4 separate regions of the Homo sapiens genome follow, and regions 2, 3 and 4 are each linked to region 1. The links are contacts of gene promoters, found by promoter capture Hi-C in blood cells and fetal thymus (Javierre and others, 2016). All regions are on one chromosome and are shown on one strand. The core of a region is centred on a gene start or on the middle of the fragment in contact, and the rest is flanking DNA. Distances in the headings are between cores, read along the strand shown. Region 1 holds the start of F3 (coagulation factor III, tissue factor). Region 2 overlaps SLC44A3-AS1 (SLC44A3 antisense RNA 1). Region 3 overlaps SLC44A3-AS1 (SLC44A3 antisense RNA 1). Region 4 overlaps SLC44A3-AS1 (SLC44A3 antisense RNA 1).

Evidence for each region. The method cuts DNA at HindIII sites, captures the fragments that hold promoters and counts their contacts. A CHiCAGO score of 5 or more calls a contact.
Region 2: a contact is called between a fragment that was not itself captured here and the fragment with the promoter of F3 in region 1, in 4 of 17 cell types (M1 macrophages, M2 macrophages, monocytes and 1 more). The highest score is 11.5, in M1 macrophages.
Region 3: a contact is called between a fragment that was not itself captured here and the fragment with the promoter of F3 in region 1, in 6 of 17 cell types (M2 macrophages, M0 macrophages, M1 macrophages and 3 more). The highest score is 27.6, in M2 macrophages.
Region 4: a fragment that was not itself captured here is called in contact with the fragment with the promoter of F3 in region 1 in 5 of 17 cell types (M1 macrophages, M0 macrophages, M2 macrophages and 2 more); the score reaches 10.7 in M1 macrophages.

Annotation. Positions count from the first base shown.
Region 1 is chr1:94,539,799-94,543,456 of GRCh38, forward strand. It overlaps F3 (coagulation factor III, tissue factor), which reads right to left and starts at 1,961. Exons shown (of 6, transcript NM_001993.5): 1 at 1,739-1,961; 2 at 459-570. The coding sequence starts at 1,838. It overlaps LOC124904223 (a long non-coding RNA gene), which reads left to right and starts at 2,176. Exons shown (of 2, transcript XR_007066234.1): 1 at 2,176-3,658. RefSeq lists a silencer at 1,881-2,160. The HindIII fragment of the contact is 2,211 bases long and covers 694-2,904 here.
Region 2 is chr1:94,764,576-94,768,233 of GRCh38, forward strand. All of the region lies in intron 1 of SLC44A3-AS1 (SLC44A3 antisense RNA 1), which reads right to left. Among named protein-coding and RNA genes, the nearest start is that of MIR378G, 21 kb to the left of the region's middle. The HindIII fragment of the contact is 9,408 bases long and covers 1-3,658 here.
Region 3 is chr1:94,723,908-94,727,565 of GRCh38, forward strand. All of the region lies in intron 2 of SLC44A3-AS1 (SLC44A3 antisense RNA 1), which reads right to left. Among named protein-coding and RNA genes, the nearest start is that of MIR378G, 20 kb to the right of the region's middle. The HindIII fragment of the contact is 8,686 bases long and covers 1-3,658 here.
Region 4 is chr1:94,703,934-94,707,591 of GRCh38, forward strand. The region is part of intron 2 of SLC44A3-AS1 (SLC44A3 antisense RNA 1); the gene reads right to left. Among named protein-coding and RNA genes, the nearest start is that of MIR378G, 40 kb to the right of the region's middle. The HindIII fragment of the contact is 1,308 bases long and covers 1,239-2,546 here.

The sequences.
Region 1 (3,658 bases), core at 711-3,210:
GTCCAAAGATGAATGAATCAAACACTGCTTAAGGGCAATGTATACATTGGGATTCCTCCCCACCTCTTCCCTAAGGTGTTAGACATTGTTCACAGTCTAGACAGCAACAGAAAAAGACATCAATGTTTAGATGAGATTAATTAATCTATCATGACCCAAAGCACACTTCAGTGCCTACTCAAGATGGTTCATCTCTCCACAGTTTATACTCCACTTAGGAACTCTCCCATCATTTCCAAAAACAATTAAAACAATTAAAATGTTCTATCAGTTTAAGGTCTGGAAATGTTGCAGGCCTAATAGAGTATGACACCGGCCAGCGAATTGCCAAGAATCCCTTCTTCTTCGTCATCTGTTAAATAATTTCATCCAGTAATCAGCTTTAAAGACATTCTTGTTCAGCATAGGACAGTAGAAACATCAAAGACCTTAATTTTCTTTTTCTGTACCCAGCTTACCTTATTTGAACAGTGTAGACTTGATTGACGGGTTTGGGTTCCCACTCCAAAATTGTCTTGAAATTAGTTGATTTCCAAGTTAAATTATATGCTGCCACAGTATTTGTAGTGCCTTTAAACAACAGAGAAACAGCTATTATTACATGCACTTCAGAGCACTCGAATGTATTGATGTATAAAACACCTTCCCACCTGACATCACCATAAACCTCACTTTTTATTTTTCAACCACAAAAGCTTCATTAGTGAATTATCAAGAGAAAAAGAATCTTCAAATTTTTTCTAGACCTAGAATTTCTTCATGACAAGATTCACCTTGTAATCCCAGGACACCGGCAAGGATCTTGACATTTTCGTTTGAAATTATTCATGGGCAAAGCCTTGTTATAACTTGACCGGGAAGAGCCCAGAGCCATCAGTGTGCCAGTCCAGGACTCAGCTCAGGAAGAGTCAGGTTCAGCCCGCCAGGAAGGGTTTTCAGTAAGTTATGGAAAAAGATAAATCCCACACGTGTGACAAGAGTTAGGACTGCATACAAATGAAAAAAGCCAAACTTCACTTTTTCCACTTTTATCTGAAATGTCGCTACACTGAAACTTCCACAGAGACCCACGGGGACGTGTGGCCTGTCACACCGTCGGCTGTATTGGATCAGGATTATTTCTTATGAAGGTCTGCTTTGCCAGTACGCAGCAGGTCCCAGTCTCTACGCCGTCCCGAACACCTCGTAGAAATACGGGGCATGCACAACGTTGTACCTGCTCCAATCTAAGCAGCAATCCAGCCCTTTTGGATTGCCTCTACCCAAACCTAGAACAAAGATGGCCAGGAAAAGACCAGGGACGCTCTTTATTAAGGGAAGATGCACATATAATGAAAGATAATATCCAAACCTCTGCACGCCAACACGTGCAGACGCAGGCACAAGTCCTATCATATTGAAGGTCGCAACTCACTGGGAAGCCCTTTCCCCAGAGTTAAAGCGGGAGCTAAAAGTCCGCTTATGCAACAACAGTCCAATTACTCGGACACCCCGAGCAAAACTCTCCAGCGGAAGGGGCAGCGGGGTCTGGGGCGCCAACTCCCTCCCTGCAACTCCCGCCGGCGCCCGACGGACTCGGTTCATTCAAGCCGGGCTGGGTGAGCGCAGCCGAGTCCCGTAGGCGCGGGGGACAACATGGGCGCCCCGGGGAACCAGGGCGAGCCCGCTGCCAGCCAGGACTGTCGCCTCCCTCCTGCGTGTGGCGCGCCCCGGGCTTCCAGGGGCTGGTGCCACTCACCTGAAGCGCCGGCCACCTGGGCGAAGACCCAGCCGAGCAGGAGCGTCCGAGCGACGGCGGTCTCGGGGCGCGGGACCCGGGGCCAGGCAGGGGTCTCCATGTCTACCAGTTGGCGGCGAGATCGAGCGGGTTCCGTGGCGCCCGTGGGGCTGGGGAGGTTGGGCTGAAGGCGCCCTGGGCCGGCCAGAGGGAGTGCGAGGGGGTGCGGGGAGCTCGCAGTCTTGGGGAGCCGGTGCCCCGCGCGCTATAAAGGGCCGGCGGCGCGCTCTCCCGCGCCTCTGCCCGCCCCCGGCGCCCGCCCCCGCCGCTCCTCCCGACTCCCCGCCCCCGGCCCGGGTCACTTGCCGTCGCGGTGGGCGGCCCCCGGCGAGTCCACACCCCTGCCCCGCCTCCTCCCGGTAGGAAACTCCGGGACCCTGCAAGGGATGACTCACCCCAGTGATTCAACCGCGCCACCGAGCGCGGAGCTGCCCTGGAGGACGCAGGCGGGTCTAGTTGCCCGGGTCCCCCAAGGCCCCCGGATTCACCCAGGCCCGCGACTCCGACGTGCAGCTTAGGTGGGTTGCAGGTCTATGGCAGGAAAGGGAGGGCGCCTTGGAAGAATTCTTCCCTTCCATTTGGTGATAAAGTGGGAGAGGCGGCATTTACAACATTTAATAGAAAGCACGGGCTCTGGGCTCCCCTCGGGCAGCGGAGGGCATTTCCCGGATGCTTTGCCCACCTGGGGCAGAAGCTCGGGACCTGCAGCGAAGTAAACGTGTGGCTGTGAGCAGGGCCCTCTCCCAGCCACGGTGGCTTCTTCTACCCCACGAAGGTCAAGAATACCTGGCCTGCCCACCTCGCGGGGCCCTTAGCGGGTCGCACAGGAGAAAGGCGGTGGGAATGCCGGTGTCAGCCACGGTGTGACCGGCTCGGCTCACAGGTCTGAGGGTCAGTTGGCTCAGGCATCGCCCGGTACGACCAGAGATAGTGACTGAGGAAGAGCAGCCTCACATCTGGCAGTTTGCCTCTGGGAGAATTCCAGCGTGACATCTGCAGCTCTGTGGTTCCAGAAAGGATGGTTCCCACATTGAAGAAGACATCTGTGGGACTGAGTTCCACCGAAATGCAGAGGAACCAAAAATGAAAATGAAAAATGTAACCAGAGTTGTGTGCCACTAGTTTTAAGCTTTGGTTTTTCTAAATTATTTTCTGGCTTCTCCTTCTGGGCTTTGCTGTAAACTTGCCAAGCATGAGAACAACTCTTCATCTATTGAGTGGCATTTTAAGCCATCCTGTCAAAGTATCTCCTGTCATTTTTATTATTATTACTCTATATTGCCTGCAAGACACGACTGGAGAATTCTTAGTGTAAGAATTGTTTGTTTCCTCTCTCCTTCTTTCCCACGTTTTCCCAGGGAAGTCAGTCTTGCATTTTAATGCATACTATATACATATCTCGTTTAGCTTACTGAACCACTTGTTTTAACAGAATAAAACTGTGCAAAATTTTAATTTTCCTCCTTTGCCTGAACTGAAATAGCACATCCAGGTTTAGCCCTTGTAGACTTTCCTTCCTCGAAGCAGAAAGTTGCCCTTGATGATTTCCTCTTTGAGCTCTCTGCCAGCTCTGAAACCCACAAAATTTATGTTTGCAAAACTAAGCCATGCAATCCTCTTTTTATGCAGGCTCTAGCCTGAGTCATTTTCCCTAAGAGATCTTCAGCTCCACCTGGGATGTGATTCTTTGCTCTCTGGGATTGAAGGTAGCTGAAGAGAAATAGTTACACTTCAGGTTTGTTACAAGACCCAAGAAATTGTTGCAATTCCACTTGGAGTCACTGACTTTTCTGAAATCATATAGGGCTTTAAACAATGTCAAGATCAGCCATTTGATAAGAAAAATGTTTACCATTGGATTGTGATACACAATGTGCCTTA
Region 2 (3,658 bases), core at 538-3,037, 220 kb after region 1:
GTACCCTAGAACTTAAAGTATAATTTAAAAAAAGAAAAAAAAGTAAGTCAGATTACATAACCCTCTAATCAAAAGCTCAACAGCTTCCCATTTCACTATACAATTTGCTCCCATCTCCTAAAACGTCTGTCCTCACTTCCTACTATCCTTCCCCTCACTGACTCCCTTAGGTCCCACTAGAAGTGTTCCTAATACACACTGGGTCTCCTTCAAGTCCTTACTCAAATGTCACCTTGTGCATGAGGACCTCCCTAGTCACACTGTCACCCTGTCCTGCTTTATCTTCCTCCATAGCACTCCTCACCACTCAACATCATCTTAATTATTTACCTGGTTTATTTCTTGCCACTCCATACCACCACCTCCCTCACACACAGACAGTCCCACAGAACACATAGTCAATTGTTAGCTACATGAGGACAGGGATCTCTGCCGGTTTTACTCACTGTTGCATTCTTACTGTCTTAAACAGTACCTTGTTGGCACATTGAAGTTCATTTATAAACATTTGTTGAATACATGAATGGGAATAAATACTTTAGTTGAAGTAATATCATCTAGGGAGCCATGGGAGAATTTGAATCCAGGTCTTTTGCTCTAGCTTTTCTACCAAGTAATATCCATTAAAATATTTTCAGCTATAATAATAGAATACCCAAATAAAATAATGAAGATAAAGTACTATCTTACAAAACAAGATATTCTGAGGTAGGTGTTTTCATGGTTGATTACTTCAGTAGCCCAGTGATGGTATCAAGGCCCTAGGTGGGTTTTTTGTTTTTGTTTTCTTACCTTTTCTCATTGCCATCCTTACTTATTGTAGCATGTTGTATTTCTCAAAAAATGCCACACCTACATATTTATCTCATCGCACATAATTTTCACACAATGTGACTGGCAACTGACACTCCTCCCATTAAGGGAAGGGTCTGTGTTCTCTCTTCTCAAATCTAGGCAGGGGATTGTGACTGTCCCAGTCAATGGAGTGGGGCAGAAGTGATGCTATGTGACTCTTGAGGGTAGATCACAGAAAGGATACAGCTTCCACCTGGCTCTCTGTTTTCAGATGCTTGCCTCTGGAACTCAACCACCATGTTGTGAGGAAATCCAGGACACATGGAGAAGCCAACATAGAGAAAAGCTAAGGCCTCCCTCCAACGGGGAGCATCAGCTTGTCTGCCATGGAGTTAGCTATCTTGGAAGTGAGTCCTTCAGCCCCAGTCAAGCCTTCAGATAGTTACAGCTCCAGCCAACATGTGATTGTAACTTCATGAGAAATCTCCAAGCCAGAACTGCTCTCAAATTCCTGACTCACAGAAATCATGGGAGATTATTATTATTGTTGTTTTAAGCCACTACATTTTGGAGTAATTTGTCAGAGAGCATTGGATAAATAACATACTTTGCATATTGTCCTTGGGTTTATCCCTTCATAGTTAAAGCATGGCTTCTTTAGCTCCTGATAGCACATCATCTTTTCAGGTAAATACAACAATATTTTGGATACAGAATTCAATTAATCTGCATAGTTGACATCAAGAAACTAGTAACTTCTGAATCCAAATCTTGATCCAGGATTGCATCACTAAGAGCTACAGGACTGGCTAGATGTTTATACTCTTTTTAATCAAAAGCAGGAAGCTACTCTAAAATACTTGAGACAATTCACTTATCTTTACCACTAGTAAGTTCACGAATGAATTTCTGTTTGGAGCATCCACTATGCTAAGAAGCCACGGATTTCATCAACGGAAACCTATTTCTAACATTAAGTATGCCAGTTAGCAGAGCCTCTACCATTGATCATAGATAAAGGTCATGGGAGCTCTTGTAGTAGCTGCTTCTGGAGTACAGTTTTCCTAATTCGAATGCTGGCTCTCCACCCTAGGGTGCAAATTCCCAATTTGGGCAAATGACTGTACCTAAGGTATAATGTAACCCATAATACACACATGAGATCATGATGCTTGTGATGAAGTATATTCAGTTACAGACAGTTTTATACCCAACCTGGCTTTCTTACATTTAGTTCATTCTCACCTCCCCTTTCAAGCACTCTGTCAATCTCAGTATTAATTTTCTCTCACTTCTGAGGAGTCCCATCCACTCAAACACAGGAATGGGTTTCCTTTCTGATATTCCTGCCAGTATACGTTCCAGAGACCTTGTTTTGGCTCCTGTGTCAGCTCAGTGCTTGCCTATTTCCCAAGGAAGACAGTAATCCTTGTAGACAGTTCAGTTCAATCCTATATTAAAGAAGGTTCAAACCTATATTAAAGAAGGACATATGCTATATTTCTTTAACTGCCTCATAATTTGCAATTAGAGTCAGTAACTCTCATAATGGCTGAGGCTGCTTGGAGCCTGCTGGATTAAGACCAGGATCATATTATTTTTTAATGGCTGCCTTTTGGGTTTTACAAGAAAGACACTGAAAAGATAACGAATACATTACATTCCCATCAAATATCCATGTTCTCCTCAGTCTCCATCTGGGGATAGATAGGAAATGCCCTATTCTCTCAGTGGCAGACATCAGCCAAGGTTTATCAAGCCATATGGATACATGGGCATTTACTAAGGAAGGTGGAGATGCCAATAAAGCAGGGGCTATGAAGGTTAACCCCAGGAGAGAGCCTGGATTCCAGGCCACTGCTGCCAACACTGTGATCCTAAACATGCTCCTTAACCTTTCTTGGCCCCTACATTTCCTTTTCTATAAAACAAAAGGTCATGAGATCCCTTCTAGCTGGAGAGGCTATTTCTGGCTACCTAGAGTTGTCACTTCTGGGCAAACCTGGTATTGCTGCCCTCTTTGTTGTTTCCATTTTTTATTTCCCTCCTCCCTCCTTTTTTTCCACAGAGTACCTACTATGATCTCAGAACAGTCCCTGCCCTCAAGCACTTCTCCACCTAGTAGAGGACATAGCAATGATAATTATTATAATCATTATTATTTTAATGAGAATAAACACTAAAATGCTAACTGCCAATATTTACTGGGCTCCCACTATAAGCCAGGTATTATGCTAAGTGCTTTTCATGCAACAGCTCATTTAATTTAATTCTTGCAATACCCCTAAGAGGGATGAACTGTTATTCTACCAGTTTGTGTTTCAGGGAAGTCAAGTGATGCACCTCAAAGCCCATAGCTCTTGCCTGATAGAGCCTTTTGAACAAATAAAAAATCACAGTGCCACACGACAAGTGCTATCATACTGGCATGCACAAAAAGCAGTGAGCAGCTACCAAGAAGGAGAAAAAAAGATCCCTCCCTACATGAATCTGGAAAGACTCTTTGAAGAGGTATCATTGAAGAATAAGAGTAACTTTACCTGATGCAGAAGAATCTCATTGCAAGATTAGATTAACCCGTAACTTAGAAAGTGATGAAGAAATAATAAGTATCACTGTTTTCTAATAATATTACAGTAAAGGAGATGACTTGGGTTTTCATCTGGCTATGTGTTAATGTGGATGATGCACGTTTTTTCACAACATGCACGCATACAAAGATACCCACTTCATGGTTTCAATTATTGCTTCATTTCCTCCTTTGTGCTAAGTGATGCTGCCTATTTGTTGAAAGGGTACAAGAGTTCTCTTGTAGTCTTCTGCCTGCCCTTCCCCAATTTTCCAGTCTATGGGTTTGTTAATC
Region 3 (3,658 bases), core at 697-3,196, 180 kb after region 1:
AAAGGGGTTCACAAGTAGTGAGGCCTGGGACTCCGGAGTCCAACCCTAATCCAGTCTGAGGCAGGCAGGACCCTGTGACATTATGTTCTTCTCACCGCATCTTGCACCTTACAGGGGGCCCCACAGTGTTGCAGGAGCAATGACTTGTGGCTTTGGGGAGGTCTTTGCTCTACTTCTGGACTCCGGCACTGGAGGCCTGATTCATATGCTGATGATGACACCAGAATTCCCCTTCCACTCCCTAACCAGGCTTGAAAGTCCAGCTTGCTTCCCAGCTCCCCGTCATGGCCTCATCCCTGCAGAGTCGGCACAGTCCACACTTCTCGCTGCCCATTCTGCTTGCTCTCCCTGGGCCAGCTACCCTTCTTTCAGTGCTGCTCATTCCAAATTGGCAGCTCACACCAGCCCCCTCTCCTGACTGCCAGATACCCTTCCTCTTCCTCCTCCTCGTGCTAATACTCAGTGTCTTAGTTTGTTTCGTGTTGCTGTAACAGAATACCACAGACTGGGTAATTTATTCATTTTATTTTATTTTATTTTACTTTTTTTGAGACAGAGTCTCACTCTCATCCAGGCTGGAGTGCAGTGGCATGATCTCATCTCACTGCAGCCTCCACCTCCTGGGTTCAAGGGATCCTCCTGCCTCAGCCTCCCGAGTAGTTGGGACTACAAGCATGCACCACCATACCTGGCTAAATTTATAAATTAAAAAGTTTATTTCTTATAGTTCTGGAGGCTCGGAAGTCTAAGGTCGAGGGGCCCTTGTCTGGTGAGGGCCTTTTTGCTGCATCCTCCCATGATGAAAGAGGAAAGGGCAAGAGCACACAAGACCGGACTCACTTTTATAACACTTCCTCTCTTGCAATAACAAATGCATGAGATTTGTTATTGATGATGTGATTAATCATTTATGAGGACCCATTAATCTATCCATTAACAACATTAATTCATTCATTAATCACCTCTCAAAGGCCCCACCTCCCAACACTGTTGCACTGGGAATTACGTTTTCAACACGTGAACTTCGTAAGCATTTACTGAGTGAATGTAAGCATTTACTGAGGGCTTACAATGTAGCAGACCCAGCATCAAAGTCTACAATATCTTATTTAATCCCGGTTAAGCACACCTCATGGCACTTGTTAGGGGTTCCACATGTACTGAATAAATGAGTCTTCACAATAATCTTTTGTGGAAGTTACTATTAATCTCTCCATCTCATAGATGAGAAAATGAAGACTCGGAGATGTTAAATAATCGGCCCACAGTCACAATGATGAGTGGCAGAGCTGGGATGTATGTCAATAGCAGGTCTGTTTCTAGGATCTATGTGCTTACCCACTGATATGCTGTCATTCATCTGTTCATTTAACAAATATTAATCCAGTACCTACTATTAGACACAGGAGTTGCAACGGAAAATAAAACAGACAAAATCTTTGATGTATAGAGCTAACATTCTAGTGAGAGAGACAAACATTAAACATGATAAGTAACATGTATGATGAATAGTGGTGAGAGCTAATAAAAAGATAAAGAAGGGAAGGAAAGAGTAAGGGGTGTCATTTTAGATGAATGAACAGGGAGGCTTCACAAAGAGGGGATCGTTGGGTAAAGCCCTGAAGGGGGTGAGGGAGTCAACTTAATCTAAGCAAAGGGCTTTGGAGCTAGGGTACCAGGTGCCAAGGCTCTGCGGTAGGAGAGTTCCTGACAAGTTCTAGGAATTGTGAGGAGACCAATGCCTTTGGAGCAGAGGCACTGAGTCTCCCTCAGTAATGGGAACTCAAAGAGTAGGAGGAGCCAGGTTGCATAGGGCCTTAGGTCTCTGTACAGAGTGGCATGAACCCTGAGTGTGATGTGATTCATCGGAAGATTACAAGGGGAGGCATGACGTGCTGATGTGGCTTTTGACAAGATTCCTCAGGCTGCCACACTGAGAGACATGGCAAATGCATCAGCATGGAGACCAGCAATCTGAACAACTGCTATGGCAATTCTTCAGATAAGAGATTATGGTGGCTGGAGCTTGGGTAGTAGCCATAGAAATGGTAGGAAGTGGTTTATTTGAAATACGTTTTCAAGATGGAACCCATAGGCTTCTAGCCTCCTGGGCTCGGCTGCCTGTTGGACACCTGCATGTTCCCCTCACACCTCAGACTCATCATATCAGAAACTGAACTCATTACCTTTCCCCTAGAAATATTCATCCCTCCTGTACTTTAATCCCTGTTATTACCACTCCCAGCTAGACAGTGGCCCAAGCCAGAAACCTGGGCACCATCCTCGATCCGTCTCTGTCCACCTTCCATTCTGCTTTCTCCTTCTTCATCCCCAACTCCACTGCCTTTAATTCAGTCCCACATCCCTCTGGCCTGGACTCTCAACAGTTTCCCTCCTCTGGCCTGGTTCAGCAAACTCCACAAGGAACCAGGATGATCTTTACTGGAAGCAGACCACATCCATTTAAAACTCTTCTGAGACTCTCTGCTGCCTGCTAAAGAAGTCCAAATTCTCTGGCCCAGAGATGTTCAAAAGAAATACAATGCAAGCCACATACATAATTTAAAATTTTCTAGTAGTCACATTAAAAAAGTAAAACAAAATAAGGTAATTGTAATAACATACATGATTAACCCAATATATCCAAAATATTATCTTAACATGTAATTGTCAAAAGACAAAATAACAACAAATTTAGTTTAATGATCTTAGTTGGATTTTATTTGTGATTCTAGAATGAGGCAACATCTTATTTTATAAAACAGAATAAGTGTTCCAATGGGCTGAGCAGATTTTATAGACAGAAAAGGGCTGAAGAAAGCAGAAACAGAATGAAAAATCAGAGTGGTTGTTTCAAAGCTGCTTTCCTTGTAAAGGTAAAAGCAGAGGGCACTTTCCTCATCATGCTGGCTAAAACTGACTCTTTTGGGGATTAGGCTATTATCTGTCTCTCTCTTGATTTCTCAGAAGGTCAGATAAACAATTTACTTTTGGCTTGATAGGGTGGAACTTCAGCACGCATAACTCCACTTTGGTTTGGTCTGCTGGGCCTAGTGCTCCTGCTCAGTCCAAACCAATGACATCTATAAATTTTATTAACATAAGGAATATTAAAAAGCATTAATGATATAGTTTGCATTCCTTTTTTCATAGTAAGTCTTCAATCTCTGGTGTCTACTTTACCCTCACAGCACATTGCACTTTGGACCAGTCACATTTCAGTCACTGAGGAGCAATGTGTGGCTACACACGGGACAGTGCAGCTCCAGCCAATCAACCACAGCCTTGCCCTTGGTATTCTCTAGCTCCTCTCCAGCCTCATCCCCACCCCCGCCCATGGTCCCTCACCTGCTTGTTTCCTGGGCTGCAGCAGATCTTATCCACACACCAGGTTGTTCATGATTCTCCGCCCTTGCACATCAATTTAGAGGTGTGCTGGAGCACAATCAAGTAAATCTCTTCCCAGCTCCCCATTCAGTGATGCCATATAGCCTGAAGTCAGCCAAGCTGGAAGCATCTATACTACAGAAACTGCAAGCACTCTAACACAGGGTGGAACGGGTGGGCCCATTGTGAAACATTTGCCAGCATATCACTGCATGTAATGACCACCACCCTGCCCTGCCACCACCATGCTCTTCTGCCACCCCTCGTTCAC
Region 4 (3,658 bases), core at 643-3,142, 160 kb after region 1:
AAAGACTATAAAAGAGATGAAAAGACATGCTATAGACTACTAGAAAATATTTGCAAAACACACATATGACAAAGGACTCATATCTAAAATACATGAACTCTCAACACTCAACAGTACCAGGGGCTAGGGAGTAGGGAATTGGGGATGTGACTACAAAGGCATAGCATGAGAGATATCTCTGTAGTGCTAGAACAGTTCTGTGTCTTGATTATGGTGGTTGTTACATGAATTTACGTGTGCTAAGAATGTATAAAATCAGATGCAAAACTAGCGAACTTTAAATAAGGTGTGTGTATTATACTACTGTCAACTGTCTGGCTGTGATATTGGGGAAAATTGGGTGAAGAGTACACAGTCCCCCTCTAAACTACTTTTTGTACCTTCCTTTGAATCTATAATTATTCATTACCTGGATAGTCATCAAGTTGTTAATCCACTCACAATAACTGAGACTTAACTCTATTCTCCCATTGTAGACAGCAAATCTTTACAGGGACTGAGGCTTATATCTCTTTATGCCCTCCATATTCTGGCCACAGCTGAGTGCTCAGTATGTTTCTAAATGATAGCTGTCCTTGATCTCCTTTGGTGCTTGCCTCAAATTGGAATCTTTGCCCCTGCGTCTTTACCTAAAACTGTCTGATGTATCCATCAGCCAGGCCCTGAGAAGCCCCACTTGTTCCAGATTCTTCAGATCCTCCTGGCAGCAGCAGGCCAGTCCAAATGAACATTCCACTCTGTACTTTCCAAGAAAGTGGAAGCTCCTTGAGGCAGGATCTCCTTCTGTCATGTGCACCACTGTATCCCCATCCCCTAGAGTAGTGTCCAATATATAGTAGGGACTCAGAAAATATTTGTGGACTGACTATCCATTAAAAAGAAAGAGAGAGAGAGAGAAAGAGAGAGAGAGAGAAAGTAACGAGCAAAACAATCTTGCATGCAATCTAGCATGCAAAAAAGTCATAGGTCAACAAGGCTCGCTCTTCTAATAGGAAGAAGGAAGCAATCTTTATATGTGTGTCTCTTATAGAGGCCCATCTAAAAACACCTTCATGAGCCACCCTATGTGCAGTGATTTTTCCTTCTTCAGAATTTGCACAAACACCTCAAAGAATTGTTACTGTGTGGTGCACTCAGTTGAATTCTATCCAGGCATTCACTAAGCCATACTGTGTGTTGGGCACTGTACCAGCAATGGGGGTTCAGAGATTAGCAAAGTCTGCTTCCTGTCCCAAAGAAGCTTCCGGCACAATCGGGGGAGACAGACAAGCAGATCATTCCTATGGGTGTGCCTAGGGTGCTAGGATGGCACAGAAGAGAGGAATCCCGGTATAGTCTGGGAACATTGGGGTGGGCTCCCAAGTTATCAGACAGATGGGGAGATGGACAGGCAGGCAGATGACCACTACTGAGTTTTGTGCCAAACACCATGCTGAATATTATACACATCCTCTCACTGAGGCTTCTACAACTCCATAAGGCCAGTTTTATTCTTTCCAACTCACCTGAATCTGGGAGGACAAGTAGGATCGGGCAGGTAAGAGGAAGGGGAAAGGTGATCCCAGGTTCAGAGAACATCATGAACAGAAGCAGGGAAGTGTGCACACCGGGACTGTCTGGGGACCTGCAAGCACAAGTCATTTGTATTACTGGGGCAAAAACTTGACTGAGATCAAAATGGAAAAGGAACCAGAAGTAACCAAAAGAATCAACCCCAGAAGGTTTTGTTTGCCATGCCAAAAATGACAACGGTCTTCAGACCAGTCTCTATGGAAGCCTGGCATTCATGGGGCTAGGCCATGAGTTACTGCACATGTTTGGTGCTAATTTCATTAAAATGTGTTTCAGATAATATTGTAGCAGATGCTGTTTGTACCCTGCCCATACTTCCTGCTCCTTGACATTGCATTACACACTAGCCCACTTCAAACTGCCAGCCCTTGCATTGCTTTGACTGAGTTTTCTTTGACAGACAGAGTCCACTGTGCCTGACCACATGGCCGGTTGCCCACACCCCACAGCTCTCAGACAACGGAGTTGGTTATAAAATTCCAGCTCCATTTCCCCTTGGGAGAAATAACTCTGAGCCACAGGTCCTATGCTGGCTCTCAGAGCTCCCCAGTGGGGTTAGCTCTGGTTGTCCACAGCGGTAATTTACTTGATCAATTTTCCTCCACTGGCTACCTTCCCTTTCCCATCTTTTGTCCTCACCTTCCTGCAAGGTGTTTCCTGAGAGCACCTCTTAGATGAGCTGCTTGCATTTAAATCCTGTGTCAAAGTCTGTTCCTGGGGCAACCCAAGCTAAGACACACACACACACACACACACACACACACACACACACACAGAGGCATAGACTATCTCTGGTAGGATTCAAAGAAACTGATAAATGTGGTGTGGCGTCTGGGAAGAAAAACATTTCTTGGGAACAGGGCTGAGGGAGGAGACTTATTTGTCACAAAATATACTTTTTTTGTTGTTTTCACCTTTTGGCTTTTGCACCATTTCCATGAATTTTCTATTTAAAAAAATAAAATAACTTCCAAAGCTTGACCAGAGGCAATCAAAGAAAACCAATAAATCCTGTTAAAATTAAATAAATACTTTTTTAAAAGCTACCCAAAATATGTACTTTAAATCATTTAAAAAATCAACTGTGATTTTACAACAACATAGTCACATGCGCTTTGTATCAAAACATTGTAACATGTTGGAGACCACCAACGTATTAACTCATGTTGCCAGGAAAATTCTCTTTGAGATAGTCTGAAAAATTTATCTTTTCTGCTAGTTTCATTCATAACTTTGAATGTTTAACAGAGGTGTCACTGATTAGTAAGATTGTAGCTCTATATAGGTGATTTCTTAAAATCCAGGTCCATGCATGTCCTCTCAATTTGTACAAGCATACTACTATGGTAAACTGAGTCACACTCAACCAAATTCACACAGGCAAAACCTAGGTGATCACGATCCCTCCCACTGCATAATGGTGAGTTGTGCAGTCAGGATCATATCACACGAGCACCTGTCCTGAGGCTGGGTTGCTTTTGATTTGACTTTTACATTTAACACAGGGAGTAAAAGCACTTAGATATTGTTAATGATTCAACTTAGAATCAAATTTTCCTCCTACTCCACATTTAAGGTATTGGGTCTGTTTAATTGAGCGCATCCTGAGATTTCAAGGCAAGCTGTTTAAAAATTAAAAATAAAGTAAAGCAAAACAATTTTATGACTTACTTCTGTGAATTGAACTTTCTCAACATTGGACAATAGAAACAAATGCAGGAATAAATTGAATACCAAGGCTGACATAAAACTGCAACTGTACCCATGACCATGAATGTCAAATGTTTACACTTCTTAAAATACTCACATTGTTCAGAGTGACTGGCTTTATAACAATGTGTGCCTATAAAGTACATATCTACCAATAAGATAACTTTTCATCTGTTTCTTCTATTGGTTTTGAATATAACATTTATTTGAAAAACAAGTTACATTTCCAAATGTTTGTGATCTCTGACGTGGATGACGGTGACCAGGGCCAGCTCCTACGCGGGCGTGGGCGAGTGCTGTGGCCAGATGTGTGCGTTTGAGGCAGGCCACCCTGGCTGCTGTTGGAAAGGGAACTGGAGCCAGCCAGCCTCCACTC